2 separate regions of the Homo sapiens genome follow, and region 2 is linked to region 1. Evidence: promoter capture Hi-C in human tissues and cell types (Jung and others, 2019). All regions are on one chromosome and are shown on one strand. Each heading gives the region's core, a stretch centred on a gene start or on the middle of the fragment in contact. The rest is flanking DNA. Distances are from core to core; before and after follow the strand shown. Region 1 holds the start of TMEM256 (transmembrane protein 256). Region 2 overlaps CHRNB1 (cholinergic receptor nicotinic beta 1 subunit).

Region 1 (4,129 bases), core at 866-3,365:
GAACCCCAAAGTATTTTGTAACTAATGACACTCCTATCCTGCCTTGCCTTAATCCTCACTTCTAGAGTAAGTGGGTGCTGATAACAACAGGGCTGAAAACCATGACCCTATAGTAATTTTTTAAAATCCCAGTACTTTGGGAGGCTGAGGCGGGTGAATTGCTTGAGGTCAGGAGTTCAAGACCAGCTTCGCCAATATGGTGAAACCCCATCTCTACTAAAAATACAAAAATTAGCCAGGCATGGTGGCATGCACCTATAATCTCAGCTACTTGGGAGGCTGAGGCAGGAGAATCACTTGAACTCAGGAGGTGGAGGTTGCAGTGAACCAAAATCGCACCACTGCACTCCAGCCTGGGCAACAGAGTGAAACTCTGTCTCAAAAAAATAAAAATAAAAATAAAAACAGGCCGGGCGTGGTGGCTCATACCTGTAATCACAGCACTTTGGGAGGCCAAGGCAGGCGGATCACCTGAGGTCGGGAGTTCAAAACCAGCCTTGCCAACATGGCACAACCCCGTGTCTACTAAAAATACAAAAAATTAGTTGGGCATGGTGGCAGGCGCCTGTAATCCCAGCTATTCAGGAGGCCGAGGCAGGAGAATCGCTTGAACCTGGGAGGCAGAGGTTGCAGTGAGCCGAGGTCGCGCCACTGTATTCCAGCCTGGGCGACAGAGCAAGACTCCATCTCAAAATAATAATAATAATAATAATAAAATTAAAAACCTAGTATGCATCAGAACCACAAGATGAGCTTATTAAAATACAGATTCTCAGGCCCGAAAGAGTGCTTCAGTAGGAATCTGTGTTATTTCAAGCATTCTTTATGACTTTGATGCCCACCAGGGTAAGAACATTATAATAAGTTAACTTAAAGTGACCAGAATCCCCAGACCTAAGGCTCACTGATTAAGTCTTAGGAAATGGAGGGAGTTCAGAGGTTGAATCCCCACCCTTCGTCCTCCAAGAGGTTAGATGAACAAAGACTCCAAAGTTTATTTGCCTTTCCTTTTTAATCCTCTTCTTACTCCAACTCTTTAAAAAAAAAACTGCCCAGAAAACCCAGTAATTAAGCAAAAGGGAGCTCAAAGAGCCAAGGCAAGCCAGCCCAAGAGTAGCAGGGTCCCTCCCGCAGGGGCCAAAGTCTGGATGCTGGGGTCTCCACTCAGAGCCTGGTAGTAAAAGCTGGTGCAGAATAAGGTCGTTCCGGAAGCTAGCAATAACCCAGCCTGAAGGAGACACAGCACAGAAAACAGGATTGTTAAGAACAGGGCAGGCTGAGAGGGAGTGTGTGGGGCTTGGTCAGGGTTAGGCGCAGGGAAAGATTACCCAGAGTGGCTTTCTGCAATGGGGCACCCCTAACAGGGCCAGGCTGTGTAAGAAGTGGTGTTTGTTGGCCTTGTCAAACAGCTGTAAGAAAAACAGAAACGAAGGGATGTCGTAGGCAATACAGGTACTGAGATCCCCTGATGACACAAGGGACCAAAGTTCCTTCCCCCACCCCACCCTTGAAGTCCCAGCTTGATCCCAGGCCTTTGGCTTACAGAGCCTTTGGCCTTTGCTGCTCCAGAGATCCGCGGCTCGCCCCACCCTCTCCCCGCCCACTTCCCCCAGGGACCCCAGACTTTGTGCCTTCGTAGACCCACGAGTCAGGGAGCCCCAGCGCAGTTACTTCACCTCCTTCCCGTAGGCATCTGGGAATTGGGCGCCTGTGGAGAAAAGAAGCAAAGGTTAGCGGTCCTAGTGCCAGCCCTGACCGCCCCCAATCCGGGGGGACCCAGGTGGACATTGGCGAGAAAGGGCACCCCCCCCCCCGCCCCAGGAAGCTTCCGATTGGTGGGAACACGCTCGGGCAGTACTGGGAACCAATTGGACCCAGCTGGGGGACTTTAAAAGGTTTAGGGCTCCGCGGACTGTCTGATAAACGAGAGGCCGGGCACCTCCCATAGGTTACGCCCTTGCAGCAGACCCCAGAGGACGCCCCAAGTACAGTCCCATCTTCGTCCCCAGCCCCCTGACCGTGCGCCCCGTAGGAAGCGAAGCCTAAGGCCGCAGCTCCGGACAAGGCGCCCAAGCGGCGGAAAGCTGCAGCTGGCCCGGCCATAGCTGTAGAACAGGACGCACCGGACCAACGCCGCCCAGGCCACCCAAGAGGCCAGCCAATCCCGACCGCCCATGCAAATAAGGTTCACAGGCGCCCAATCCGGGCCGTGTTCATTTCAGCATTGCGCTCTTCACCCGCCTTTGTAAAACCGCTGCAGAGTGGCGAAGACGTCTGGCGGGCGGAGAAACCAGCACCAATTAGGAACAGAGGAGCTAAGCAGTGGGGGGGCGGGGTTGAGGGCGGGACTAGGGGGATTTGCGTCAAGGATTGGCCCACTTTCCAAGTTGATCGCCTCTTCGAACCCCCCACCCCCATGCTCCGGCCAATTTCCAAAGATCCCGGTCTTCTCTCAAAGTTCCGCCCCTTTTTCCACAGGCTCCTCCTGTTCAGCTTCAAATCAAACCCACTACCAAAAAGAGGCGGCCCGAAAGATAGCAAAGCCCCACCTATTGCCAGTAAACCCCGCCCACTGCACAAATGGCCCCTCCCCCATGTCTGAAGGCTCCGCCTTCTTTGTATGATGCCCCGCCCCCTGTAGTTAAGATATTCTCCCCCCCGCCAGCCCTCCGAGACCGCGAGAGCCCCGAGGGTGGGAGATCCGGGGGAATGTCTCCACCCTGCCCTGGCCCGCTACGTCCATCTGTCCGTCTGTCCGCTCCCGCCTCTTCCCACCATCTCCAATCCCCCCATTCTCCGGAGGGCGGGCGGGCAGGCGGGTGCGAGCGGGGGGTGCGAGCGGGGGGTGTGCGCCGCTCTCTCGGCAGGGGGCGGGGGAGGCGGCCGCGCGGTGACGCGCGGGGCTGCTGCGGCTGCTCCGCCGGCGGATCATCACTCTCGGGCTGGGATGGACGCGGGGCGGGCCGGCCCTGGCGCGCGGAGCCAGGAGTCCGGGCCTCCCGGCTGCTGAGCGTCCCTCGAAGCCTCCCCTCACCCCCGCCTTCCCTCCTAGGATCCGCGCTGACCCCCGCCCCGGGGCTCTGGACTCGGCTCCCGCCCTCCTCTGACTCCCCGGACCTCCCCCTCACGCCCGCCCTCGGGATCGACTAGATCCCTCCCCCTCCCCGAGGATTCCGGCTGGATCCCTGCCCCTGCACCGCGGATCCTGCGCTCCCGGGCCCCGGGCCCCTGGGGATTAACGTGGACTCCTCCTCCAGCACCCGATCCTTAGGATCCTCCGCCTGGACCGCCTTCTGGTCCCTCGAAGCCGGCCCACGGAACCAGCGGATCCTCAATCTAGTCCTGTCCCGTTGCCCCCTCCTTTCTCTATCGTCCCTACTGCGGGGTTCCCTGTTCTCGGGCTCCCCCTGATCCCATCCCCTAGCTCTCCTTTTCCCGGGGATCGACTGGATCCCGGCCCCGCCCCCCGGGGCTGGGGCGATCCCCCTCCCCCGCCGGGTGAGGCGCTGCGGGCGGGGGCTGGGCCTGCGGGGCCGCGGGGGCTCAGAGGCCGCCGCCCCCTCCCGAAGGCCTTTCGCCCCCCACTCGGAGCCCTGGATGGAGGCACCACGGCCCCAGGGCTGAGCCAGGTAGGACCTAAGCCGGGTCGGTGGAGGGGGCTGCGTGGCGGTCCACTGGGGTCTCCCTCTCCCCATCTCCCTCCCTGCGCCTGGTTTCCCCCAGCCTGCTCTGTCTGCGTGTCTCCGCCTAGGGATGCTCTCGCCGTGTCTCTGCGTCTTGGTCTCTTTGTCTCTGCCTCTCTCCAGTCCATGAATGATCCTTTGAATGGGCCCACAGACCCCGTGTGTTCCCATCTCCCCCTCCCCCTCCTTCTCCCCTTCCCAGCCAAGCCATTTTCACCACTGCAGGAAGGGGGGGCCTGCGGCCTGAGCCCCCGTCCCTCAACTCTCCCCGGCTGGGGGAGTCAGGCCTGGGCAGGAATGGAGAGAGAAGGCAGAGGGATAGGGAGAAGGAGGAGGGAGCAAGATGTGGCAGACAGAGATGAGGAGAGAAAATGGGGGAGACAGTGATGGGGAAAGACAGGAGAGAGAGACAGAAGGCTTAAGGGGGAAATTTGGGGAAGGCATTT
Region 2 (3,940 bases), core at 1,386-3,885, 52 kb after region 1:
CCGGCTCAGTTTTGGACATGTTAAGCTTGAAATATTTATTAGACATCCAACTATCCAAGAGAGGTTGAGTAGGCAGATGGATATATATCTGGCATTCAGGGGAGAAGTCCAGGGTGGACATACAAATGTAGGAATGATTTACATGCAGATGGCCCTTCCAAAAGCCTGTCTTTTTTTTTTTTTTTTTTTTTTTATGATGGAGTTTTGCTCTGTTGCTCAGGCTGGAAGGCAGTGGTGCCATCACAGCTCACTGCAGCCTCCATCTTCCACACTCAAGCAGTCCTCCCAACTCAGCCTCTCAAATAGTTGGGACCACAAGCATGCGCCATTGTGCCTGGCTAATTTTTTTTTTTTTCTTTTTGTAGAGGTTGGGCAAAGTGGCTCACGCCTGTAATCCCAACAGTTTGGGAGGCCAAGGTGGGTGGATCACTTGAGCTCAGGAGTTTGAGACCAGCCTGGGTAACATGGTGAAATCCTGTCTCTACAAAAAGTACAAAAATTAGCTGGGCATGGTGGCGTGCACCTGTAGTCCCAGCTACTCAGGAGGCCGAGGTGGGAAGACCACTTGAGCCTGGGAAGTGGAGGTTTCAATGAGCCATTATCATGCCACTGCACTCCAGCCTGGGTGACAGAGCAAGACCCAGCCTCAAATTTGTTTTTGTAGAAAAGAGGTCTCCCTATGTTGCTCAGGCTGGTCTGAAACTCCTGGGCTCAAGCAATCCTCCCACCTTGGCCTCCCAAAGTGCCAGGACTACAGGTGTGAACCACTGTGCCTGGCTGTAGAAATCTGTCTTTGAATGGCCTGGAAACATGGTCACTGATTATGCCATAGAGCTTTCCTTCAGGCAAGTCTAATCCTTCTCTCTTCCCCTCTGCCCTCCAAGGAGAGAAGATGGGGCTCTCAATCTTTGCCCTGCTGACCCTTACTGTGTTCCTGCTGCTGCTGGCTGACAAAGTACCTGAGACCTCACTATCAGTACCCATTATTATCAAGTACCTCATGTTTACCATGGTCCTCGTCACCTTCTCAGTCATCCTTAGTGTCGTGGTTCTCAACCTGCACCACCGCTCACCCCACACCCACCAAATGCCCCTTTGGGTCCGTCAGGTAAGAAAGATCTCCTCCTCCAACCCCAATTTTCCTTTTACAGACCATAGGGAGAACTATAGCTATGTGGCAGAGTGTTGAAGTGTCCAAGCTTGTTGAGTGTTGAAATGTTGCACAGTTAAGCTAGCCCCCATCATTATCATTTCACAGATCCCATACTCTCTTCATCAATACTGCCCATCTCGGGTCCCAGGGAAATATTCTTAGGGTTAGGTACTATCAGATTGGAAGCCCTCTCTTTCCAGTTGGGATACCTCCCAACCCACTAAATAGCTTTTTTTTTTTTTTTTTTTTTTTTTTGAGATGGAGTTTTGTTCTTGTGGCCAGGCTGGAGTGCAATGGCACAATCTCAGCTCACTGCAACCTTCACCTCCCAGGTTCCAGCGATTCTCCTGCCTGAGCCTCCCAAGTAGCTGGGATTACAGGCACCCGCCACCACGCCCAGCTAATTTTTGTATTTTTAGTAGAGAGAGGGTTTCACCATGTTGGCCAGGCTGGTCTTGAACTCCTGACCTCAGGTGATCCACCTGCCTTGGCTTCCCAAAGTGCTGCGATTACAGGCGTGAGCCACCGCGACAGGCCCAACCCACTAAAGAGCTCTTAGGTCTGTGTGGCTGCATTTCCTTGTGTAGCTCGTTTGTGGAAGAATATGCACGCACATACTCACGCGCGGGAATGGGCATGTGGAGTGGGGTGGTTGGCTGTTTCCCTTCTGGTCTGAAAGCATGAAAGCCCCCACCAATACGCCTCTTCTACTCTGCAGATCTTCATTCACAAACTTCCGCTGTACCTGCGTCTAAAAAGGCCCAAACCCGAGAGAGACCTGATGCCGGAGCCCCCTCACTGTTCTTCTCCAGGAAGTGGCTGGGGTCGGGGAACAGATGAATATTTCATCCGGAAGCCGCCAAGTGATTTTCTCTTCCCCAAACCCAATAGGTAGGACTACGCCCGTTACCCACATAAGAGGGAGAGGGAGAACTACAGTTCCCAGAAGAGTGTGCGGAAGAAGCGGCCCATGCTCTCGGAAGACGCTGTGGTTGAGCATCATGGGAGTTGTAGTACTCCTGCTGCTCACTTTGAGGGGAGGTGGGAACTAAAACAGAGGCGGTGGAAGAAGTTGCACAAGGCTAGAGAGATCACTGCTGGAGGGAAAAGCATGATGGGCTCTCGGGTTTTGAGAACTGGCAAGTTGTTGGAGGCAGCTGGAGCGGGGCCTGGGTCGCCGGCACTGGCTGTCTTTGCGTTTGGGCGTGGCCAGTCACTCCTCTTCCAGGTTCCAGCCTGAACTGTCTGCCCCTGATCTGCGGCGATTTATCGATGGTCCAAACCGGGCTGTGGCCCTGCTTCCGGAGCTACGGGAGGTCGTCTCCTCTATCAGCTACATCGCTCGACAGCTGCAGGAACAGGAGGACCACGATGCGGTATGTCCAACGGGGGTGGAACAAGGCCAGGTCTAGGCGACCTTGGCCCCACCCCCAAATTCCGCACCAGCACTCGCTTTCGTTTTTTTTGTGTGGTTTTTTTTTGGCTTTTTTTTTTTTTTTTTTTTTTTGAGACAGAGTCTCGCTCTGTCGCCCAGGCTGGAGTGCAGTGGCTCGATCTCGGCTCACTGCAACCTCCGCCTACGGGTTCAAGCGATTGTCCTGCCTCAGCCTGCCGAGTAGCTGGGACGACAGGGGCGCGCCACCACGCCTGGCTAATTTTTGTATTTTTAGTAGAGACGTGGCTTCACCATGTTGGCCAGGCTGGTCTGAAACTCCTGACCTCAGGTGATCCGCTCGCTTCGGCCTCCCAAAGTGCTGGGATTACAGGCGTGAGCCACCGCGCCCGGCCTCGCTTTCGTTTCTGATTGGACCTCTCCCTCATTTGGTCCCACCCCCTGCTTACCTACTGGTTCTTTATGCCCATGCATTGCCTGCAGTCTCGCTCTCCTGTTGGCGCTGCCGGCTGTTGCCTCAAACCAGTGGTAGGAGGACTCAAGCGGGTAGCGGGCGGGGAAATGGGGGGGTTTCCCTGGGGGTCTGGGCCCAGAGCTCAGGAAGTTTCCTTTGCCTACCCACAGCTGAAGGAGGACTGGCAGTTTGTGGCCATGGTAGTGGACCGCCTCTTCCTGTGGACTTTCATCATCTTCACCAGCGTTGGGACCCTAGTCATCTTCCTGGACGCCACGTACCACTTGCCCCCTCCAGACCCCTTTCCTTGAAGACTGGAGGGTTGAGACCCAGGCCCCCTGCCAGTTGAAGTGAGAGTTTGGTGATACTGTCAAGCCCTATCCTTCTCTGCCTCTTAACTCCTTCACGAGGAATCTGGGCCTCTTATTTCGTTTCTGGGGACTGCATTGGACTGAGGGCTGGGTAGGCAGGTGTCTTGGACCCACCTGAAATGCAGTATCATCTGATTTACTCTTTGGGATCTTGAAGAAGCTCTTTTGGGTATCAACACCTAGGTCGCCAGTGAAATAGAACACAGAACAGGAACTAGATTATAAGCCTTATGAGGTCAAGAAATGTGACTTGGCCGGGCGCGGTGGCTCACGCCTGTAATCCCAGCACTTTGGGAGGCCAAGGCGGGCGGATCACCTGAGGTCGGGAGTTTGAGACCAGCCCGACCAACATGGAGAAACCCTGTCTCTACTAAAAATACAAAATTAGCCAGGTGTGGTGGTACATGCCTGTAATCCCAGCTACTAGGGAGGCTGAGGCAGGAGAATCACTCGAACCCGGGAGGCAGAGGTTGCAGTGAGTCAAGATCACGCCATTGCACTCCAGCCTGGGCAACAAGAGCGAAACTCCATCTCAAAAAAAAAAAAGTGTCTTGTTCACTGCAGCATGC

The links. Contacts are between HindIII fragments. The study calls those that stand out against the background at their distance.
Region 2: a fragment that was not itself captured here is called in contact with the fragment with the promoter of TMEM256 in region 1 in 1 of the 25 tissues and cell types used here (dorsolateral prefrontal cortex).

Annotation. Positions count from the first base shown.
Region 1 is chr17:7,401,982-7,406,110 of GRCh38, forward strand. TMEM256 (transmembrane protein 256) reads right to left here and starts at 2,116. Exons shown (of 4, transcript NM_152766.5): 1 at 2,019-2,116; 2 at 1,677-1,708; 3 at 1,329-1,409; 4 at 994-1,228. The coding sequence starts at 2,103. The coding sequence ends at 1,085. TMEM256-PLSCR3 (TMEM256-PLSCR3 readthrough (NMD candidate)) reads right to left here and starts at 2,150. Exons shown (of 10, transcript NR_037719.1): 1 at 2,019-2,150; 2 at 1,677-1,708. It also overlaps a transcript of NLGN2 not described here. RefSeq lists an enhancer at 1,925-2,104 and a silencer at 2,595-2,924. The HindIII fragment of the contact is 13,166 bases long and covers 1-4,129 here.
Region 2 is chr17:7,453,413-7,457,352 of GRCh38, forward strand. It overlaps CHRNB1 (cholinergic receptor nicotinic beta 1 subunit), which reads left to right. Exons shown (of 11, transcript NM_000747.3): 8 at 885-1,108; 9 at 1,872-2,044; 10 at 2,382-2,529; 11 at 3,171-3,940. The coding sequence ends at 3,311. Among named protein-coding and RNA genes, the nearest start is that of CHRNB1, 10 kb to the left of the region's middle. RefSeq lists enhancers at 2,279-2,780, 2,308-2,387, 2,468-2,627. The HindIII fragment of the contact is 4,047 bases long and covers 613-3,940 here.